7 separate regions of the Homo sapiens genome follow, and all the other regions are linked to region 4. Evidence: promoter capture Hi-C in human tissues and cell types (Jung and others, 2019). All regions are on one chromosome and are shown on one strand. Each heading gives the region's core, a stretch centred on a gene start or on the middle of the fragment in contact. The rest is flanking DNA. Distances are from core to core; before and after follow the strand shown. Region 1 holds the start of RPL8 (ribosomal protein L8). Region 2 has its middle 16 kb from the start of COMMD5. Region 3 holds the start of ZNF251 (zinc finger protein 251). Region 4 holds the start of TONSL (tonsoku like, DNA repair protein). Region 5 has its middle 6.1 kb from the start of COMMD5. Region 6 holds the start of ZNF7 (zinc finger protein 7). Region 7 overlaps ZNF251 (zinc finger protein 251).

Region 1 (2,859 bases), core at 138-2,637, 350 kb before region 4:
AACTCTCCTTCTGCTCCTCCAGAGAAGCAGATTTGTTCAGGAGTGACGGACAGGCTGGGCCTGTGGGCCAATTTTGGGCTGACCCCAGAACCCCTCACCCTGCCCCCAGGGTCCAGTCCTGCCCCTCAGCCCCTGGCCCTAGCTGTGGGCTGTGCTGCTTCCTGAGTCCCCACCGGGCAGCTCCTCCTCCATCCCCCTGCCGACCCTAGGGGAGGGCCTCCTGCAGCAGCCCCTCCTCTCCCCTGTGAGCAACAGCGGGCACAGGACACCCTTCCACCCTCTCCTGTCTCCTTCTCACGATGTCAACCCTGCCTCAGCCCCTGCAGGGTCTAGGAAACACCCCACCTCCCAGTACCGACAGCAAGCCTCTCCCGCCCACTGGGACCCCCGCCTTCACCTCCTTGCTGCCTCCCCACCCACGGCCTCGCGTGTGCTCGACAGTGCTCACTCAGCCAGGGACTCTCTCCTGGAAAACCTCTTCCCCACCATCCCCCACCCGCGGCCTCGGGGTCCCACCCGTTAGGGGCCCGATTCCGCGAAGCCCCTCTCCACAGCACGTACCGCAGGACACCCCCAGTCGGGCTGACTCTTTCCAGCTCAGGCCCCCACAGCCCCTCCCAGCCTCCATTTCTTGCTCCTTCCCCACCTCTCCCGCACAGGGTTCTGGTCAGGGTACGGTCCAGTCTCCCATTATTCGTCCACTCCGCAGCATGTGACCCAGCCCATCCCCGCTCCTTCTTCCTCGACCCGGGACCCTCCAGCTTGGCCCTCCCCACTTCCTGGGCCGGCCGGCCCTCACCCTCGGCAAGGATCCCGGGGCTCCTCTCCTCGACGCCCGACCTCTCCAAGGGCCTACAGTGGATAAGGTCCCCGCGTCCAGAAGCGCCCGTTCATCAGGGAGACGGACATTTGCCACCTGCAAACCATGACGTTCCACGAGTGGGTCCACGCGTCTCCCCTGCCCATCTCCTGCTCTGCACCAGCGAGAACCCCCTCGGCCTACACGGAAGCCCCTCACCAGGCAAGCCGGGAGCCCCAGACCCCGTGGCCCGGAGTGGGTCGCTCTGTGACACCCTGGACAGGTCACTCAACCACTTGGCGCCTCCTCGGCCACTCAGAAAACACCTGCCCTCCCGGAGACCCCGGTGAAAGCCGAGCACTCCTGCACCCTCCTTCCGAGCCCACGCACACCAGGACACCTTCAGCCGCGTCTCCTGGTGCGCCTGCGCGGGGGCCCTGGAGGAGGAGAAGTAGGCGGGGCCGGCGGCCGCTGGTGACTACAAGCCCCGGCGTGCACCGCGCTAGGCTGGCCGTGGCGCGCCCGGAAGGTGTCGCGGCCCTGGGCCCCGCCCCGGAAGATAAGGCCGCTCGCTGACGCCGTGTTTCCTCTTTCGGCCGCGCTGGTGAACAGGTAGGTCATCCTTGCGGCCTTGCGGCATGGGCAGTATCCGCCGCCATCCTCTTCCGTGAGGCGCGCTGAGACCCGGACCGGCCCTCCTGAGAGGATGCCGGTGCGGGCGCCCGCGGAGAGGGTAGGGAGTGGTGGGCGCGGCGGCCTCGGGGGCGGGGTCCCGGAAAGCCGGGCTGGCGGGGGTACCCGGGCCGCCCGGCCGCGCTAATCGTGAGTCGCCCCCAGGACCCGTCGCCATGGGCCGTGTGATCCGTGGACAGAGGAAGGGCGCCGGGTCTGTGTTCCGCGCGCACGTGAAGCACCGTAAAGGCGCTGCGCGCCTGCGCGCCGTGGATTTCGCTGAGCGGCACGGCTACATCAAGGGCATCGTCAAGGTGCGGAACGCTGGCCGGGGCGGGAGGGGAAGGGACGCCCGGCCGGAACGCCGCACTCACGCCGCCTCTGCCCACAGGACATCATCCACGACCCGGGCCGCGGCGCGCCCCTCGCCAAGGTGGTCTTCCGGGATCCGTATCGGTTTAAGAAGCGGACGGAGCTGTTCATTGCCGCCGAGGGCATTCACACGGGCCAGTTTGTGTATTGCGGCAAGAAGGGTTAGCATCGCGGCGGGGAAGGAAGGTCGGGGTGGGGAGGGGTCTGGGTGTTGCCTGAGGAGTTAACGTCCTAAGCCGATATGGGAACCTCGCAGGCAGAAGCTTCAGGTGGGGACATCCGCGTGGCCAGACCAGTGGCCACCGGTGGGTGCCGAGAGAGTTGTACCGGGAGGCTGGATGTTGAATGCTGTGCTCGCAACTTCGCGGGTTGCCTAGAGCGAGGGGGTTCGCATTGTTTCTTACTGTGCTGACGGCCTGATGCTGCTTCCCCTTGCAGCCCAGCTCAACATTGGCAATGTGCTCCCTGTGGGCACCATGCCTGAGGGTACAATCGTGTGCTGCCTGGAGGAGAAGCCTGGAGACCGTGGCAAGCTGGCCCGGGCATCAGGGAACTATGCCACCGTTATCTCCCACAACCCTGAGACCAAGAAGACCCGTGTGAAGCTGCCCTCCGGCTCCAAGAAGGTTATCTCCTCAGCCAACAGAGCTGTGGTTGGTGAGTATCAGGCAGCAGTTGAATGCTGAGGGCTGTGGGTGAACATGCTGTGAGTGCCGGTGGACAGCCAGTGGCTAGACTTGGTCCCTGGAATTCGATTACCTGTTGTTCTAAAACTTGGGTTCTGTAAGTTTGAGCTCATCCTGTAGTCTCAGTTGTCATCACTGTACAACAGGCACAACAGTACCTGCTTTACTGCTGTTGAGGCGTTAAATGAGATTGGGACGAAGTCACCAGGGTCTTGGATTCTACCGTGGGCTTCCTGATTGCTGCACTTGCATGCAGTTGGTTAACAGCCTTTTTAGAGAAGGCAGGGAGAGATTGTGGCTTTCTCAAAGACGCCTACTGAGTGAGTGAAA
Region 2 (2,956 bases), core at 284-2,783, 420 kb before region 4:
AGAAATAAAGACACAAGACAAAGAGAAAAGAAAAGACACCTGGGCCCAGGGGACCACTACCACCAAGACGCAGAGACCGGTAGTGGTCCCAAATGCCAGGCTGCACTGATATTTATTAGATACAAGACAAAGGGGCAGGGTAAGGAGTGTGAGCCATCTCCAATGATAGGTAAGGCCACGTGGGTCATGTGTCCACTGAACAGGGGGCCCTTCCCTGCCTGGCAGCCGAGGCAGAGAGAGAGGGAGAGAGAGAGACAGCTTACACCATTATTTCTGCATATCAGAGACTTTTAGTACTTTCACTAATTTTCTACTGCTATCTAAAAGGCAGAGCCAGGTGTACAGGATGGAACACGAAAGCAGACTAGGAGCGTGACCACTGAAGCACAGCATCACAGGGAGACGGTTAGGCCCCTGGATAACTGCGGGCAGGCCTGACTGATGTCAGGCCCTCCACAAGAGGTGGAGGACTAGAGTCTTCTCTAAACTCCCCCAGGGAAAGGGACACTCCCTTTCCCGGTCTGCTAAGTAGCAGGTATTTTTCCTTGGCACTGACGCTACTGCTAGACCACGGTCTACTTGGCAACAGGCGTTTTCCCAGATGCTGGCGTTACCACTAGACCAAGGAGCCCTCTGGTGGCCCTGTCTGGGCATAACAGAAGGCTCACACTCATGTCTTCTGGTCACTTCTCACTATGTCCCCTCAGCTCCTATATCTGTATGGCCTGGTTTTTCCTAGGTTATGATTATAGAGTGAGGATTATTATAATATTGGAATAAAGAGTAATTGCTACAAACTAATGATTAATGATATTCATATATAATCATGTCTGTGATCTGATCTAGTATAACTTGTTGTTTTATATATTTTATTATACTGGAACAGCTCGTGCCCTCGGTCTCTTGCCTCAGCACCTGGGTGGCTTGCCGCCCACACTACCAAAGTGCTGGAATTACAGGCATGAGCCATCATGCCCAGCCATCGTTTTCTTTCTTTTTTTTTTTGTTTTTTTTTTTTTTTGAGGCGGAGTCTCGCTCTGTCACCCAGGCTGGAGTGCAGTGGTGCGAACTCAGCTCACTGCAAGCTCCACCTCCTGGGTTCATGCCATTCTCCTGCCTCAGCCTTCCGAGTAGCTGGGACTACAGGCGCCTGCCACCACGCCTGGCTAATTTTTTGTATTTTTAGTAGAGATGGGGTTTCACTGTGTTAGCCAGGATGGTCTTGATCTCCTGACCTCATGATCCTCCCACCTCAGCCTCCCAAAGTGCTGGGATTACAGACGTGAGCCACTGTGCCCAGCCCAGCCATCATTTTCTTTCATCACTTTGTCCACTGAACTTAGGAGCAACCAACCAGCTTCATCATGTTCCTTGGTTCTCCACATATAGTCAAAGATATTATGTATAGGGTCACTAAACTCCTTGCCTCTCATGAATGGTGAATCAGGAGTGTCAAATGCATTTATTTTGCATAACTCTCTAAACAGTTTATGCCAAGGACTATCAGTGTTCTCCATACTATTAGAAGTAGAGTCCTTAACATTTTGGGGTCTAATCATATTAACCAGCCAAATCCAGAAACCCCAAAACCAATGACAGAACTCCATCCTTAATATCCTCTTCCTCCAGAACCACTCCTGGTACAAAAATCTGTATTAGTCAGAGTTCTCTAGAGGGATAGAACTAATGGAATATATATAAAAAGGGAAGTATTAAATTACACAATCACGAGGTCCCACTATAGGCTGTCTGCAAGCTTCAGGAGCAAGGAGAGCCAGTCCAAGTCTCAAAACTGAAGAACTTGGAGTCAGATGTTGGAGGGCAGGAAGCATCCGGCATGGGAGAAAGATGTAGGCTGGGAGGGTAGGCCAGTCTGGCCTTTTCACATTTCTCCAGTATTAACCATCACACCTATAAATTTCCCCAGCCTATAAGCAGCTATGGGCTCTGGAGTTAAGCTCGTCCCCCATCTCCACAGGTTTTTGCAATATACCTGTGTTGTTGCTGTTGAGCAACAATCTCTCTCTCTCTCTCTGTCTGTCTCCCCCCTCTCTCTCCTCTCTCTCTCTCTGTGTGTGTGTGTGTGTGTGTGTGTGTTTCTTTAGCCCTTGCCCTCCCTTCAAAACCTAACATTTTAGTGCCAAAACCCAGGATAGGAATTGGGTTCTAAATGGGTAAATGTTTTCTAGCAACCTGGAAAGCAGCAAGCAGCAAAAACCAGACCCAGGCCTGCTTCCAGATCCTGAATGGACTCCCTATTCCCAGCTCCGTTCCTTTATTCTCTCTTCTTCTCTGGTCCTGGGCTGACTTCCAGATCCTGATCAAACTCTCCATCCTCTTTTTCCTTCCTTCCCCTTTCCAGGCAGCTCCAGCAAGTATCAATCCCATTGCTGGACATCACATCCAACACCCGTCTCCAATTAGTGGGTGAGTCTCTCTTTTTTTCCTCTCCAGATTCCTCTCATATTTCTGGGGGTTCACCAGAAAATTCCAGTACCAGGTGAGAGGTCTCCCTGGTCACCAGGTGACCGTGGCCTACCCTCTCAGGGGACGCCGTCAGAATGCTCACCACTTTGGCCACTGCAGCCTCTGGGGGTCTGCAAAGAGCTGTAGGGACGCCCTGGCTCTCCTAGGTCCCTTCTCCCAGGAGGAATCGGGGTACTCACTCCCCTCCGGGGTATTCACTTCCCTCTGGGGTACTTCCATCCTCTAAATTTCTCACCCTCTGGCCAGCAGTATGGGGCAACACTCCTCAAAACCTCAAGACACCACTCTTGGATGTTTCCATCCAGAACCTCCAAGCCCAGGGCTTGGCAGACTCCATTAAAACTGAACGCCTTGCTGGCCAAGTGTGATAGTTCATGCCTGTAATCTCAGCACTTTGGGAGGCCAAGGTGGGCAGATCACAAGATCAGGAGTTCGAGACCAGCCTGGCCAATATGGTGAAACCCTGTCT
Region 3 (3,215 bases), core at 269-2,768, 310 kb before region 4:
TTCTATTTTTCACATTCTATTTCATAAGCATTACCCTCTGCCAATACTTTTTTTTCAAATACCACACATAATGGCTGCATAATGTTCAACTGAGTGTACAGAAGACAATAGATTTATCTATTTCTGTGCTGCAAAAAGCATAATTATCTTCCATTTCCCCTTCTATGAATAACTAGCTATTTTCCAAATTCTCCCCATTATTTAAAAAAAACCACACACACAACAAACTCTGGAATGGGCACCCTTCTCTTTGTCATTTTTGTTATTTCCATAGGATAGATTCCTAGATTAATTGAAGTGTTTAAGGCTCTTTATGTACAGCTTAATTCATTTTCAACATTGTACTAAACACGCTTCCTCAAGCATAGCAGTGCGTAATTCTCCACAATCTCCCCAGCACTGATATTAATAATGTAAGGCATCTTCTTAATCATGTGTGACTTTGCATGGTGCTTTAGACTTCTAGACATTCTCCATCCTCGTTGATCGTCTCAAGTTCAGATATAAAATTTCTGCCTTGATTCTAACACAGTGTACAGGGCCTACACTATATTCTGGGTGACAAGATGGCTTGGCTTTCCTTTCCTTCTCCCCCTGCTCCTAAGCTGGTCTCCTCACCTTTATCAAGTGCTATTTTTTCAACCATGCTTTATTGTGTAGGGGCCAAAGGGAAAGTTCCTCTTTGCCCTCTGAAGGTTCACTGAAAGCCAACTCATAAAAGGCAGATTTTTGGAGAAAAGGCAAATAAATGGATTATTTATTTATTTATTATTTATTTTTGAGATGGAGTCTCGCTCTGTCACCCAGGCTGGAGTGCAGTGGCGCGATCTCGGCTCACTGCAACCTCCGCCTCCCGGGTTCAAGCGATTCTCCCGCCTCAGCCTCCGGAGTAGCTGGGACTACAGACGCCCGCCACCACGCCCGGCCTTTACCGCCAGTTTTCACACAGAAAAGCGGGGGGAACATCAGAGTCGTGTTTTTAGGTTTTGTGGCTGGCTTTGGGGGTCTGGCCTCTGGGACTCGCCTTGGGTAAAAGGGATTCACTCTGTGAGGAGCCTCGCGGGAGAAAAGAACTGAGACTGGAGGCCTGGGAAGGTCAGAGGGAAACTGCCTCCCAGGCCTTCATTTTGGGGCGTTGTGTTCTGAGCCCCGATAATTGTAACATCTTCATAAGCGACTTTCTGGTGGTTATGGTGAATCGGGACACACGATGTATGGTGACCGACGGGGGAGCCGGGAGCCCAGCGGGGTTAGGGTTCAGGTGAGGGTTTAGGGTCGGGGCGAGCGCGGCGCGGCCCGGATGCGCAGCGTCACCGCGCCAGACCCTCCGCTCAGCTGCCGTGGGCTCTCCCCCTCCCCGACCATAGACGGCGCAGGCCTCCAGTCATCCCAGAGCGGCCCCGGAAGAATCCGGGCGGAACCGCGGCTGGCTTCCGGTTCCCGGCGTTCTCGGAGGCGTACTGAGGCCCCGCAGGGGGCGGGGAAGCCTGCGTGTGCGCAGCTCGGCCCGGCCCGCCCTCTTCATCCTAGCCCGCCCCCTCCCCGGCTCTGGACCCGGTTCTGTGGGAGGGTCCGTTCCGGGCTCGGTGCGACTGCGCAGCTCCTCGGCGCTTCCTCGGTGGCTTCCCCGGGTCGAGCAAACAGGTGGGGCAGTGTCGGACCAGGAAGGAGCGCCAAGCGGGCAGGCAGGCGGGGAGGGCGCGGGGAGGGCGCGGGGAGGCGGCGGCCAGTCCAGGAGGAGCCTGTTCTGGGTGCCGCGGGAGCCACCGACGGGCTGCAGAGGCCGGGAGGAGGCGACCGCGGCGCGGCCCTAGAAGGCTGGACTGAGGACCACAGCTGGCTTCCGGCCTCTCCCCGGAGCCTGGGGCCTTCGGCAGCATCCCCGCGGCCTCCTTCTCACGTCCTCAGCCTTGGTGAGGCTGCACCCTCACGTGGCTCTTTGCCCCAGGTTGGCCAGGCAGGTAGAACGGCCCTGCACCCCATTTCCAGGGCCTTCAGCAGGTCTGGACCACGGGAACTGCCAGCTTTCACCCCTTAGCCGGGCGTCCCTGGATCCCCCCGGGCTCTGGCTCTGGCCGTTCTGGGATTTCAGGAGTCACTGAGCAGTAGGGCACGTCGGCCCGTGCTGCATAGTGACCTGCCTCCCGCGACCCAGGAGGCCACAGCAGCAATCAGCTTCTGCCTCCTGGCCATCCTTCCACACCCCTGGTTGAATGGGGCTGAGCCTGAGTTCTCCCCACTGAAGGTAAGTTCGGGGAGACTTCAGGCCAGGGCAGTCTCCTGTCTTCTCTTGGAAACCACAGCAGCCCATGCACACAGAATGGCAGCCACATTCCAGCTTCCAGGGCACCAGGTGAGTTAACCCTCCTTCCTGCCCACCTCTTCATCTTCATCCCCATCCCAGTCAGAAGCTACTCTCCTCTGGAGCCGTGAGCCCGGCAACTGGTAAGGCCAGCCAGGGGCTCATAGCAACCGTGAGGAAAGGGTTCTGAGAGGTAGACTCGCCCTCCTGCAGGGAGAGGGGCTCTGAGCTCAGCTGGGTCCCCGTGTAGCTGAAGTTGGCTGGTCCTCAGCGCTCTCAGCTGCCCCATCAGGGACCTGCTGATACACAGTTCATACTGACCACAGCAGGGCCCTGGGTAGTGGGGCCCCACCAGGTCAGGGCCCTTTTAGTGCAGGCTGCTGCCCCGTGGGCATGGCCTGGGCAGCGGCGATGTTTTGTTGCAGGAGATGCCGCTGACCTTCCAGGATGTGGCCGTGTACTTCTCTCAGGCGGAGGGGCGGCAGCTGGGCCCCCAGCAGCGGGCGCTCTACCGGGATGTGATGCTGGAGAACTATGGGAACGTGGCCTCTCTGGGTGAGGCTCTCTGCACTTGGCCTGGTTCGCAGTGGGGGCCTCTGAGGAGCTTGGGAGGCTGCTTTGGCTCTTTGGATCCCAAAGAAGAGGGTCCTGCCCCTTGTCCCCGGGTATCAGTCTGATCTCTACAGAAGGAACATTTCCCATGGGAAAAGCCTGCCTTGCTCCCCAGTTCTAGGGACTTCACTCCCTGTTGCCAGTGGCCCCACTGGTGTCCCTCCAGTGGCAGGAGAGCTGATGAGTGGATTCTCCTTCAGTACTTAGTCTCAGCCCACGGGCCCCCTGACCAACACACGTGCAGGCGTACACACGTGCACACAGGGCCCATCTCTCCACACCTGGCCTGGAAGGCCCAGTG
Region 4 (2,966 bases), core at 7-2,506:
CTTTCTTTCTTTTCCTCCCTCCCTCCCTTTCTTTTTTTTAAATAAAGATGGGGTATCGGGCTGGGCATGGTGGCTTACACCTGTAATACCGGCACTTTGGGAGGCCGAGGTGGGCGGATCACAAGGTCAGGAGTTTGAAACCAGCCTGGCCAGCATGGTGAAACCCCGTCTCTACTAAAATGCAAAAATTAGCCGGGCATGCTGGCACGCGCCTGTAGTCCCAGCTACTTGGAAGGCTGAGGCAGGAAAATCGCTTGAACTCGGGAGGCGGAGGTTGTGGTGAGCCGAGATCACACCATTGCACGCCAGCCTGGGTGACAGAACGAGACTCCGTCTCACACACACACACACACGAAAGATGGGGCCTCACTATGTTGCCCAGGCTGGTCTCGTACTGCTAGGCTCAAGCGATCCTCCTGACCGGGCCTCCCATAGCGCTCGGATTACAGTGCGGGCCACTGTGCCCGGGCTACTTCTGCAGCTGAAGCACAGGTTCACTGACTCTTCCGAGAATACAGCTGGCATACACATTGCTGAAACAATACTTGTTCACTATGGAAAGCACATTCCCCTCCCAAAACAGTCCTTGGGGCCGAGTCCCCAAATGTGACCCAGCTGCGTTCTGCGGAGGAGGAGCGCGCCTGACACCTTATTACGTCCCCACAGCCAAATGCTCGTGAATTTATCGTCAGTCTATCTGGACACTACGTTCGTTTTTAATAGTTGCGCCTGTGAGCAGGCTGTGTGTGTGAATTTCGGGAGGAATTGGGGCGGCGGCACAGCTCGTCCACCATGAGTAGCGCGGGCGGCACGGGGGCTGCAGCCCAGAAGACCCCACCCAGGGCGCGCTGCGACCCCGGACGGGCTGGCTCCGGGCCCCCGGCCTCCCGCGTCCCCGCCGCCTACGAGGAGGAACGGGGTCCCCACCAGGCACTCCCCGGGCCGGGCAGAGGGCTCCACGCGCGGGCCAACCCGGCGTCCGGGAAGACGGCCCCTAGGGTGGGACGCCCCAGTTGTCGCCGCCACCCCGCCCCAGCTCCTCCCGCACGAGAACTCCGAGGATGCCGCGGGCGGGCCGACCGTACTTCCCGGAATGCCCCGCGCCCGCCGCCGCCGTCGAGGGGCGGGGCCTGCGTGTCGGCGGCGAGGGGCGGGGCCTGCGTGTCGGCGGCGAGGGGCGGGGCCTGCGTGTCGGCGGCGAGGGGCGGGGCCTGCGTGTCGGCGGCGAGGGGCGGGGCCGCGGCGCAGCGCGGGAAGTCCGGATCCCGCGGCGATCCGAGCATGAGCCTGGAGCGCGAGCTTCGCCGTAAGTTCCTCGGGGACCCCTTCCTCCGGGGGCGCGGAGGCTGGGGAGGGCTTGGGACTCGGCCCCGGCCCCGGACCCCGCCGCGGAGGCCCAGCCCTCCTCTTCCTCCCACAGAGCTGAGCAAGGCGAAAGCCAAGGCGCAGAGGGCCGGGCAGCGGCGCGAAGAGGCCGCGCTGTGCCACCAGCTGGGGGAGCTCCTGGCCGGCCATGGTGAGCGCCGGGACCAGGAGGCGGGAGGCAGGGCCGGGGCCCGGGCCCGGGCCGGGATCGGGGGCCGGGGGGCGACGGGCTCTTCCGGCAGACGCCGCCCCAGGGCCGCCCTCGCACCCGCGACGCCTGCCAGGCCGTGCTGTGCCCCCGCCTAGGCCGCTACGCCGAGGCTCTGGAGCAGCACTGGCAGGAGCTGCAGCTTCGGGAGCGCGCTGACGACCCTCTGGGCTGTGCCGTGGCCCACCGCAAGATCGGAGAGCGCCTGGCCGAGATGGAGGACTACCCGGCTGCCTTGCAGGTGCGGGCGCCCTCACTGGCCTCGTCCAGCCCGGTCGGCCTCTGGAGCCCTTTTCTGAGGAGGGAGGCCTGGTCTTCGCCGTCAGGAGCCTCGGGCTGGAGGGGACACCTGACCTGACGCAGCCTTGCCTTCACCGCCCCGGGCCAGTCCTCCGGTGGGGACCCCACAGCCTTTCCTGGGACTGGGGCAGGAGTAGGTTTCCTGGCACCAGAAACCATTACTGAACGTTATTTTAGCTGTGTTTGTGTTGGGGGAGGTCAGGCCCCATCCCAAAAGCTCTCCCTGACCCTGGCTGCTGGAGGCAGGACTGCAACCCCCCCGCCAACTCCCAGCTGCCCCTCCCCACGTGACAGCGTTGGCTGCATACAGCGTGAAGCCACTGTCACCACAGAGAGCCCTTGGCATGCAGAGGAGGGGCACGTGTCTGGCCTTGGCCTGCTCTGTGGGGGTTAGGGGGAGCAGGCTCTTTCCTTAGCAAGAACAGGGTCTCTGGGAATCTGGCGGTGCCGGTTTGCTTGAGGCGGAGTCGGCTCACAGCAGTGACTTCCTTCCACACTCAGCACCAGCACCAGTACCTGGAGCTGGCACATTCCCTGCGCAACCACACGGAGCTGCAGAGGGCCTGGGCCACCATCGGCCGCACCCACCTGGACATCTATGACCACTGCCAGTCGAGGGATGCTTTGCTGCAGGCACAGGCTGCCTTTGAGAAGAGCTTGGCTATTGTGGATGAGGAGCTGGAGGGTGGGCAGACCCCTCCGCGTTTTCTGCCTCCTGAACTTCGGGCCGAAGAGGCTGCAGCCCAGCACCCCCGCAGCCTCCTTGGGCAATCCCGTCTTCTGGAGCCCTCCCTTTGCAAGGCTCTTGTGTGAGGGGTGCATGCCCCGCTCAACCTTTCCCCTGGAGATCGTCAGCTCTTTATCCACTCTGTGCTCCATCTGCCGCAGGACACTTGCACCCACCTCGGGAGGAGGGAGGGGGTAGGAGAGGCGCTGCACAGGCCCCAAATGGGGCCCAAAGCTGGAAACCCCATGTGGGGAGGAAGTGGCTGAGTGTTTGGGGGGGTATCTTCCAGGGACACTGGCCCAGGGAGAGCTGAATGAGATGAGGACCCGCCTCTATCTCAACCTGGGCCTCACCTTTGAGAGCCTG
Region 5 (2,824 bases), core at 132-2,631, 400 kb before region 4:
AAATTTTCCTTTTTTTTTGAGACAAGGTCTCCCCATCATCCAGTCTGGAATGCAATGGCACGATCATGGCTCACTGTAGCCTCAACCTCCTGGGCTCACAGGCACACCACACCACACCCGGCTAATTTTCAGATTTTTTGTAGAGATGGGGTTTTGCCACGTTGCCCAGGCTGGTCTTGAATTCCTGGGCTCTGGTGATCTGCCCACCTCGGCCTCCCAAAGTGCTGGTTTTACAGCAATGAGCCACCACACCCAGCCATGAAATTTTAATTTCATGTGTCACAAAGTATTTTTTTCCATTGAAAAACCATTCTTAGTCCAGGCATGGTTGGCGCCAACCCCATGAGCCCACTGGACCCCTCCAGTACAGAGCACCTGTCCATCCTTGTCAGTGGCCAGTCTCCATTAGACCTGGACTCCAGGGCAGAGGCCAGCCCTGTCCATCTTTGTCCCCGTGGCTTGCACAAGGCCTTGCACAGAGAACGGATGTCTGCATCTGGGAAATTACTCCCTTGGTTTTCTTGGCCTTAGTTCTCTGTGGAAACTTGCTGGTGATTTCCCTCTCCTGTGGCACTGTCCTGAGCTCAAAGCCTGGATGCCTCCCCACCTGCATCACTCACTCATTCAGCAAACATTTCTGGGGCTCTGAGTCAAGCTGCATGCACTGGGGACTTGAGGATTTATAAAATGGCCTGGACCCGGCCCTTGCTCTGCTTCACTTTGTGAAGCTTCCAGAAAGGTCCAGATAGTTTCAATTCAGTGTCATAAATGAAAGATTATTCTGATAGTTGAGATAAAAAGCAATTCCAGGCCTAGGTTATAGATTTAATTTATTGTCTCCAAAACAGAAACCCAAAATGTTTTTATTTATATATTGTGGAGACAGGGCCTCACTCTGTCACCCAGGCTAGAGTGCAGTGGTGCGATCACAGCTCACTGTGGTCTCCGAACTCCTGGGGTCACGTGATCCTTCCTTGGCCTCTCAAAGTGCTGGAATTACAGGCGTGAGCCACCGTGCCTGGCCTGGAAACTCTTTAGATGAGCTTACCGAAGCCCGAATTGCAGTGCAGTGTGAACAGGTTAACAGGATATTCTAGCACCTGCACTACCCCATGAGCAGCCCCTCTTCCTCTCCCTCTCCACAAAAGAACCACCAGCCTGTGTGCCAGGGGCCACCTGGATGCTTCCATGTGATACTCAGATCTCAAAGCTGTGCAGTAGCTTGAATTTAAGTCATGTGCTCACACCCTTGGCTCTCAGCAAGCTGCCCCATGGACATGATGTGTCATTTCCACATCGTGCAGCTAGAAGAGGACTCCTCCTCAGCTCGGCATGGTGGCTCACGCCTGTCATCCCAGCACTTAGGGAGGCCGAGGCGGGCGGATCACGAGGTCAGAAGATCGAGACCAGCTGGCTAACACAGTGAAACCCCGTCTCTATTAAAAATACAAAAAAATTAGCCGGGCGTGGTAGCAGGCACCTGTAGTCCCAGCTACTCGGGAGGCTGAGGCAGGAGAATGGCGTGAACCCAGGTGGCGGAGCTTGCAGTGAGCCGAGACCGCACCACTGCACTTCAGCCTGAGGGACAGAGCGAGATTCCGTCTCAAAAAAAAAGAAGACTCCTCCTCCCATCCCTCCGTGGCTAATATCTAACCTGGATTGTTGGACTTTAGGTTTACTTCTATTGAACTGACCCAGCTGCCTTATTCTCAGTTGTACCGTGACATTTAGGTAAAGAAACCACTAAGGGCTGAGAGGAAAAATAATCCTTCAGTGGCTGGAGGGCATGAAGTCATTTTCCAAGTTCAAGGTGACTTGGCTGGTGTGGTAAACACTGCTGCAGCAAGAAAGCCGCCAGAGGCTCCATGAAGACGCTTGGGCATCACCAAGCCCAGGGACACTGTGCACAGTCAAATTCGATTTTAACATAGTTTTCAAATGTCACAAGTCTCTTATTTTCTCCCCAACCATTCAGAAATGTAAAAAGCTACGAATGGTTTGCCAGCCCCTGACTTAGGACCATGTCAATCCAGAGAGAATCCAGGTGCTGAAGCAGAATGAAGCTTGCACCCCAGCCCCTTTTTGGCTGGTTGCTGTTAGTGAAAAGAACACAGCATTATGGTTAGCACAGAATCTGGAATTTTCAGACCATCCATATGGCTGACGTTCCCCTCCTTCTGTCCTGATCATGAACCAGGAAGTGGCCAAGAGGAGATGACGAGAGCCCAGGAGGAGGCAGGGTCAGTCTTTGTGAGCAGTGTTTTGGAAGGCCAGGAACAGGAGTTGCAGGCGGTGCATGTGGGTGCCTTGGCTCTTGTCCCATGGTTGGGCGGCCCAGAAAGCCTGAAGTAGAGAAAAAGCAACAGCAACCCCTGTGCTAGACCTGAAGGTGACCACCTGGCTAAGCACATTACCTGCCAAGACCCTTCTCAGCAGCCACGTGACGCAAGGCAGGGACACTGCACACATACTCCACGTGCACAGAAGTTCCGGTGTGAGTAGGGCATGGCTGGAGAAGAGGCAGTTACAGTGGATGCACTGACTCCATGGCTGTGGAGAGCACCATCACCCTTGTACACCGGGAGGAGCCCCTGAAGAGGCAGGTGGGAGGTCACCAGTCAGGAGTTCCAGGTTCCCCCTGAATGACAAGGACTGTGGAGACAGGGTTGAGGTCTTACAGTTGGCCTCATGCCTGTGAATATCAGCCTTAATTAGATGCTGTGTGAGAAAATCAAATGGACAAGGTCCCAGCCTGTTAGATTAGGGTTGAGCAGCAGATTCACGTGAAAATTCAATTTCAGCAAAAAAGCATCAGGCCTTGAGC
Region 6 (3,256 bases), core at 171-2,670, 380 kb before region 4:
AGGGGGTACTGTGCTCTCTGCTCCTTTACCTCCAGCCCCAGATTTCTCTAGCAGGGACATGGGGCTGGGCTGAAGCAGCCATGGCACTTGAGTGAAGGAGGCCCACTGAACTCTTGTTCCTCTTTAGAGTGTATGTGTGTGTGGCATGTGTGACTCACTCCACAAAGCCGTAAGAAGTGGATGCCACGTGCCAGGCACTGAGTAATGGGGATACAGTAGTGGACACGAGGACCCTGCCTTCACGAAGCAGTCTGGCGGAGGAAAGAGTTAAATAACCACACAAATAAGCACACTGCAACCACGACAGCGCTCAAGTACAGGGAACTATGAAAGCCACTTAGACTAGAACGTTCAGTGTAATGGGTCACTTCCCCAGGGACCTCGGCCAAGGTAATGGAGGTGGAGAGAGCACTCCAGGCAGCAGGAATAGCATGTGAAAGGGCCTGAAGCAAGAAGAAATGGGGTTGGATGAACCAGTGTGGGTAAATTCCCGGCAGCAAGGGAAGGCAGTGAGCGACTGGAGGTTGGGGAAGGCAGTGAGCGACTGGAGGTTGGAGAAGGCAGGAGCAAAAATGACAAACTGTAGGGAAGACAAGAGTGGACATGGAAACCCCTGCCCTCAAGTACATAAATTCCAGTCTCCAGCTCACCTGTCGCCAGGATGGAACCAGGCACAGGGATGTAATCTGATATAAATCGTTCACCTCAATTAAGCCAATGACCCCAGACCCTCTACCTGCCCAGGCATTCCCCCGGGAGGTCGGAATGGGAAAAAGAGTCTTCGTATGGCAGCTTCTGGCCCAGAAAGTGGTTTGTGGGTGGAAGCCCCAGGTCACCGGCACAGGTAGGCTGATCCCCCCACCTGGCTCCTGACAGTAGGAATGCCCGGAATAGCAACCAGAATTTAGAGAAGACAAACAGCCTACCCCACCCAAGGCACCGTTCCTTCCTCCACTGTCACTTATCCTAGGCCTTCCGGGGCAATAAATAGAAAGAGAAAAGGCTCTAGAAGGAGGTGATTTCGCAGGAGGAGTCAGGGCCCCGGGAGTAGACCCAGGCCTGAAGAAAAGGCCGCAGCTGGAGCTCGCCTTACTCAGGCCCCGGACACCGTGGCCGCCACGAGCGGGGTCTGCGGGGAGCTGCGAGACTCGGCCAAACGAAGCCCACCTCGCGCCGCCGCGGGGGAGGGTGGCTGGGCTCGACCACCTCCCACACCAGGCGCTCAAGGCCCCGCAAAGCCCCCGCGCTTTCCCGCCTGGAGGCCCGGGGGACGCGGGGACCCCAATGCCGAAGGCGGGAGGGCTAAGGAAGCGACCAGGGATCACTCGGACCGAGGGCAACCCGAGTCCGCGCCCGCCGCGCCGACTCACCCTCCCTGAGGACCACCCGAGGCTCGCAAACGCGCGACGCCGCCGGAAACGGGCCTTGGCCACCCGCGTCCGCCCCGCCCCGCAAACTTCCGGCCGCCCTGGGCCGCTCGGAGGCCCGGCCATCTCTGTGGTTCTCAGCCCCGCCTCCCAGGCTCCGGAGAAGGGGTGGAGTCAGAGCCGAGGAGGGGCGAGGCTGGGGCCCGAGGGACAAGAACCTGGGCGGGACCAGAAGCCCAGATAGGCGGGGCTGGCGCCTGGGGGCGGGGTACAGTCAGAGGCGGGCAGGGGGCGGAGCCGCGAGGGAGAGGAGGGCCCAGAGCCCGGAGTGGGCGGTGCCTGAGCAGGGGCGGGGCGGGGCCGGGGCCTGGAGCTGGGGACGCGGGCCGGGGCCGGGAGTTGCGGACTCGCTGGCGGGTGGGAGGAGCGGAGTCGGGGCGAGGCTGGCGGAGATCCAGGGGATCGCCCGGTTGGGCCCTGCGCACCCCGGATCACCAGCTTCGGGCGCTGGTTCCCACCGAGGCTGTTCAGGCGCCGCTCCCCCGCGTCCCTGCGACAGGAGGCGCCTGCTGGGCGCGCTATGGACCCCGCCTCGCGGAGACGCCTGGCTCGGGCCTTGTCCCCAGTGAGCGGCTGGAGCGGCCGCGGGGTCGCAGAGCCTCCGGGACCCCGAGGAAGGGCGCCCCTCGGAGTTGCCCGAGGCCGGGCCCGGCGTCCACTCGCCACTCGCCTCGCCCCTCCCCGGCCCCGCACCGCCCTCCACCCCGCCTCCTTCGGGTTCCTTCTGCGTCCGGCAGAGCCTGCGCGCCTCCCCCGGACGGCCACGGACTCGCAGCCTCGGCGAGGACGCTGCCTGCGTCCCGACTGCCTGGACCTCCCCGCGTGGCTCCCGGCGAAGCCCAGCAGCCGGAGGGTGCCAGGTCCGCCTGACGCGCCCCTCCCCACGGGAAGAACGGGGCGGGGGTCCAGGAGGGACGTAAGCCGGGCTCCCCCGGCGTGTTGATCCGAACCCGCGCGGGAAAACTTGCGCAAACCAAAGGAGGGAAGAGTCAGGCAGCCCCCAGCCCCCCAGGGAGGCCCAGGTGAAAAACAGACGCCGGCCTCGCCTCTCCCGGTGCGGATGATCCCGGCACTCCCACCCCCGCCCCTGCTGCCCCGAGTTCGGCTCCCTCAGCCCCACATCCTCTCTGGTCATCTAAGTGGACTGCAGCTGCTCAGGGAGCATGTCGCGAAGGATAGGGAAGGACAGGGGGTCTGCTTCCCCAGCCGCCCTCCAGACCCCCAGGGCTGGTAGGGGCCGGCAACCCTATGCCCCAACCTGGCCTGCTGCAGGTGAGGGGGGCACACCAGGGTAACACAGGAGCAGGAGGGGGAGAAAGCCTGGCTAGAGCATCCACCTCATAGGCACCTTCCTTGTGTCCAGGGTGCAGATGCCAGGGCTCTGAGGCCCTGAGGTCCTGTCTGGGGCGAGGGGGCTTCCTCCATCCACTGCATCCACTGCCCGGCTGAGTCTAGAGGCCACTGAGCAAGCAGACCCTCCAAAGCCAGGCACACTCAGGCCCTCACATGGTCACGGTGCTTATGCTCTGGGCCAGCCTGGATTGCTCATCCCTAGCTGAGATTGGGATTCACAGGGTCTTCCAGTTCCCCCTTTTCTTTCTCTACTGATTGAGAAACACAGAGTCCTTTGATTGCTCTGGGACCTGGCCATTGCGTGTTCCCTGCAGCCTTGAACCCAGTTCAATGGGGCCGGGCACATTCCCTGATAAAGCTGTTTAGGTTGCTTGAAAACACAATCAACCCTATTGCTAAACACGTAGAAACTGGCCCTGCCCTGAGTCCAATCCCTTAAACTCTCATCTAAGCTCCATAGCCAGAGTCCCTTGCTG
Region 7 (2,834 bases), core at 233-2,732, 280 kb before region 4:
GGCAGCAGAGCCCACCCTTGCTGCTCTTTCAGTCCAGGGATTGGCGCTCTGGGCCCCGCGCCTGGAGGGGCTTTAGGCCCGGTGGATAAAACATGGCTCTCCACTTCCCTGTTTGGTTCCTGAGTTCTCTTTTGGCACTTTTCAGCCGACTCTGGTGATGTACGAAGGGAGAGGCACTGCTGGGCCTGCCATACAGCTGCACAGTGAGTGAGCGGCCTCGAGTTGGTGGGTGAGGGCACCCGCTCCTGGGAACAACGCCAGCCCTGGGTGGGCTCAGCCCTGCCTGCAATGTTGAGAAACTGTTACAATTGAACATCTTTATCTGAGTAGTCACAAAAAACACATGTAACCTGTTGATAGCCTGATGAGAGATCTGTTTTGGTTTTGGTTCTTCAGAGACAGGGTCTCACTCTGCTGCCCAGGCTGGAGTGCGGAGGTGCGGTCTCAGCTCACTGCAGCCTCCACCTCGTGGGCTCAAGCTCTCCTCTCATTTCAGCCTCCCAAAGTGCGGGGATCACAGGCGCGAGCCACCATGCCCATCCCAAGAGATCTATTTTTAAGCGGGCAGTTACGTTGATATGAGACATCAGGGAGGACCCTGGCATTTAAAAGGAATCTTAGGCCGGGTGCGGTAGCTCACGCCTGTGATCCCAGCACTTTGGGAGGCCGAGGCGGGTGGATGGCGAGGTCAGGAGATCGAGACCATCCTGGTTAACACAGTGAAACCCCGTCTCTACTAAAAATACAAAAAATTAGCCGGGCGTGGTGGCGGGCGCCTGTAGTCCCAGCTACTCGGGAGGCTGAGGCAGGAGAATGGCGTGAACCCGGGAGGCGGAGCTTGCAGTGAGCCGAGATTGCGCCACTGCACTCCAGCCTGGGCGACAGAGCAAGACTCTATCTCACAAAAAAAAAAAAAAAAATAAAAATAAATAAATAAAAGGAATCTTATATGCTTGCTAAAAGGGCACTACGCATGGAGAAAATGACATAAAATTTTGTTTTCGTTTTTATCCCAATTTTTCTTTTGACTTTTATAACCAGGAGCTTTAGGAGTAAACTCGTATTTTTAAATTTTAACATGAATATAGGTCAGGCACACTTCATTTTATTCCACTTCACTTTGTTGTGGCTTTGCAGATACTGCTGCTTTTTTTTTTTTTTTTTTTCCATAGATGGAGTCTTGCTCGTCGCCCAGGCTGGAGTGCAATGGCGCGATCTCAGCTCACTGCAACCTCCGCCTCCCAGGTTCTAGTGATTCTCCTGCCTCAGCCTCCCAAGTAGCTGGGATTACAGGCGCGCGCCACCATGCCTGGCTAATTTTGTATTTTTAGTAGAGACAGGGTTTCACCATGTTGGCCAGGATGGTCTCAAACTTCTGACCTCAGGTGATCTGCCCCCCTGGGCCTCCAAACTGTTGGGATTACAAGTGCGAGCCACTGCGCCTGGCGAACATTTTTTTTTACAAATTGAAGGTTTGTGACGACCTTGTGTTGAGCAAGTCTGTCAGTGCCATTTTCAACAGCACGTGCTCACTTCTTTGTGTCACATTTTGGTAATTCTTGCAGTATTTCAAACCTTTTTTTTTTTTTTTTTGAGACGGAGCCTTGCTCTGTCGCCCAGACTGGAGTGCAGTGGCGCGATCTCGGCTCACTGCAAGCTCCGCCTCCCGGGTTCATGCTATTCTCCTGCCTCAGCCTCCCGGGTAGCTGGGACTACAGGCGCCCACCACCACGCCCGGCTAATTTTTTGTATTTTTAGTAGAGATGAGGTTTCACCATGTTAGCCAGGATGGTCTCGATCTCCTGACCTCGTGATCCGCCCGTCTCGGCCTCCCAAGGTGCTGGGATTGCAGGCATGAGCTACTGCGCCTGGCCTCAAACCTTTTTTTTATATCTGTTATGGTGCTCTGTGATCTGCGATCTTTAATGTTGCTATTGTAATTGTTTCAAGGGCACCATGAACTCTGCCTGTATGAGACGGTGAGCTTAATCGATGAGTGTTGGCTGTCCTGACCCACTGATCAGCCATTCCCTACCTCCCTCTCTCTCTCCTAGGGCCTCCATATTCCCTGAGACTCAGCAATATCGAAACTAGGCCAATTAATAACCCTGGAATGGCCTATAAGTGTTCAAATGAAAGGAAGAGTCACACACCTCTCGCTTTATTGCAAATGTTAGAAATGACCAAGTTTAGTAAGGAAGGTGCGGTGAAAACTGAGACAGGCCAAAGCCAGGCCTTTTGCGTCTGTTAGCTAAGTTGTGAATGCAAAGCAAAACTTCTTCAGGCGTGGTGGATCAAGCCTGTAGTCCCAGCTTCTCAGGAGGCTGAGACAGGAGGATCGCTTGAGCCCAGGAGTTTGAGGCTGCAGTGAGCTATGATCACACCACTGCACTCCAGCCTGGGTGACAGAGTGAGACCCTGTCTCAAAAAGAAAATAACAGTAAAAAGTAAAGTTCTTGAAGGAAATTGGGAGTGCTATTCTGGTGAACATATGAATGACAAGAAGGTACAGCAGCCTTATTGCTGATATGGAGACAGTTTCAGTCCCCCTCAAACTGTCTGGATAGAAGATCAAACCAGACACATTCCCTTAAGCCAAAGCTTCGCCTCAAGAGCAAGGCCCCAACTCTCTTCAATTATGCGAAAGCTGAGAGGGGTAAGGAAGCTGCAGAAGAAAACCTTGAAGCTGGCAGAGGTTGGTTCATGAGGGTTAAGGAAAGACGTAGTCTCCATAACAAAAGCACAAGGTGAAGCAGCCACTGCTGATGGAGAAGCTGCAGCACGTTGTCCAGAAGACCTAGCTAAGATGATTGATGAAGGTGGCTACACTGAAT

Evidence for each region. Contacts are between HindIII fragments. The study calls those that stand out against the background at their distance.
Region 1: a contact is called between the fragment with the promoter of RPL8 here and the fragment with the promoter of TONSL in region 4, in 3 of the 25 tissues and cell types used here (dorsolateral prefrontal cortex, mesendoderm cells and small bowel).
Region 2: a fragment that was not itself captured here is called in contact with the fragment with the promoter of TONSL in region 4 in 1 of the 25 tissues and cell types used here (lymphoblastoid cells).
Region 3: a contact is called between the fragment with the promoter of ZNF251 here and the fragment with the promoter of TONSL in region 4, in 4 of the 25 tissues and cell types used here (IMR-90 fibroblasts, bladder, heart right ventricle and 1 more).
Region 5: a contact is called between a fragment that was not itself captured here and the fragment with the promoter of TONSL in region 4, in 1 of the 25 tissues and cell types used here (spleen).
Region 6: the fragment with the promoter of ZNF7 here is called in contact with the fragment with the promoter of TONSL in region 4 in 2 of the 25 tissues and cell types used here (dorsolateral prefrontal cortex and small bowel).
Region 7: a contact is called between a fragment that was not itself captured here and the fragment with the promoter of TONSL in region 4, in 2 of the 25 tissues and cell types used here (dorsolateral prefrontal cortex and spleen).

What each region holds. Positions count from the first base shown.
Region 1 is chr8:144,790,918-144,793,776 of GRCh38, reverse strand. RPL8 (ribosomal protein L8) reads left to right here and starts at 1,387. Exons shown (of 5, transcript NM_001317782.2): 1 at 1,387-1,785; 2 at 1,863-2,004; 3 at 2,282-2,500. The coding sequence starts at 1,648. It overlaps MIR6850 (microRNA 6850), which reads left to right and starts at 1,786; the gene lies at 1,786-1,846. RefSeq lists enhancers at 1-295, 2,708-2,859 and a silencer at 1,466-1,685. The HindIII fragment of the contact is 17,129 bases long and covers 1-2,859 here.
Region 2 is chr8:144,867,530-144,870,485 of GRCh38, reverse strand. No RefSeq gene overlaps it. Among named protein-coding and RNA genes, the nearest start is that of COMMD5, 16 kb to the right of the region's middle. The HindIII fragment of the contact is 3,133 bases long and covers 1-2,956 here.
Region 3 is chr8:144,753,834-144,757,048 of GRCh38, reverse strand. ZNF251 (zinc finger protein 251) reads left to right here and starts at 1,518. Exons shown (of 5, transcript NM_138367.2): 1 at 1,518-1,644; 2 at 2,246-2,353; 3 at 2,728-2,857. The coding sequence starts at 2,321. The region is part of intron 2 of LOC107986986 (a long non-coding RNA gene); the gene reads right to left. The HindIII fragment of the contact is 22,211 bases long and covers 1-3,215 here.
Region 4 is chr8:144,442,730-144,445,695 of GRCh38, reverse strand. TONSL (tonsoku like, DNA repair protein) reads left to right here and starts at 1,256. Exons shown (of 26, transcript NM_013432.5): 1 at 1,256-1,306; 2 at 1,421-1,516; 3 at 1,672-1,814; 4 at 2,375-2,558; 5 at 2,890-2,966. The coding sequence starts at 1,282. RefSeq lists silencers at 661-800, 841-1,610 and an enhancer at 1,856-2,364. The HindIII fragment of the contact is 9,197 bases long and covers 1-2,966 here.
Region 5 is chr8:144,845,498-144,848,321 of GRCh38, reverse strand. It overlaps a transcript of ZNF7 not described here and a transcript of COMMD5 not described here. Among named protein-coding and RNA genes, the nearest start is that of COMMD5, 6.1 kb to the left of the region's middle. The HindIII fragment of the contact is 4,508 bases long and covers 1-2,824 here.
Region 6 is chr8:144,825,724-144,828,979 of GRCh38, reverse strand. It overlaps ZNF7 (zinc finger protein 7), which reads right to left and starts at 1,420. Exons shown (of 5, transcript NM_003416.4): 1 at 1,371-1,420. It overlaps LOC100130027 (a long non-coding RNA gene), which reads left to right and starts at 1,940. Exons shown (of 5, transcript NR_147501.1): 1 at 1,940-3,256. RefSeq lists enhancers at 191-716, 717-1,242, 1,243-1,768 and a silencer at 1,100-2,229. The HindIII fragment of the contact is 13,991 bases long and covers 1-3,256 here.
Region 7 is chr8:144,727,422-144,730,255 of GRCh38, reverse strand. All of the region lies in intron 4 of ZNF251 (zinc finger protein 251), which reads left to right. Among named protein-coding and RNA genes, the nearest start is that of ZNF251, 27 kb to the left of the region's middle. The HindIII fragment of the contact is 6,507 bases long and covers 1-2,834 here.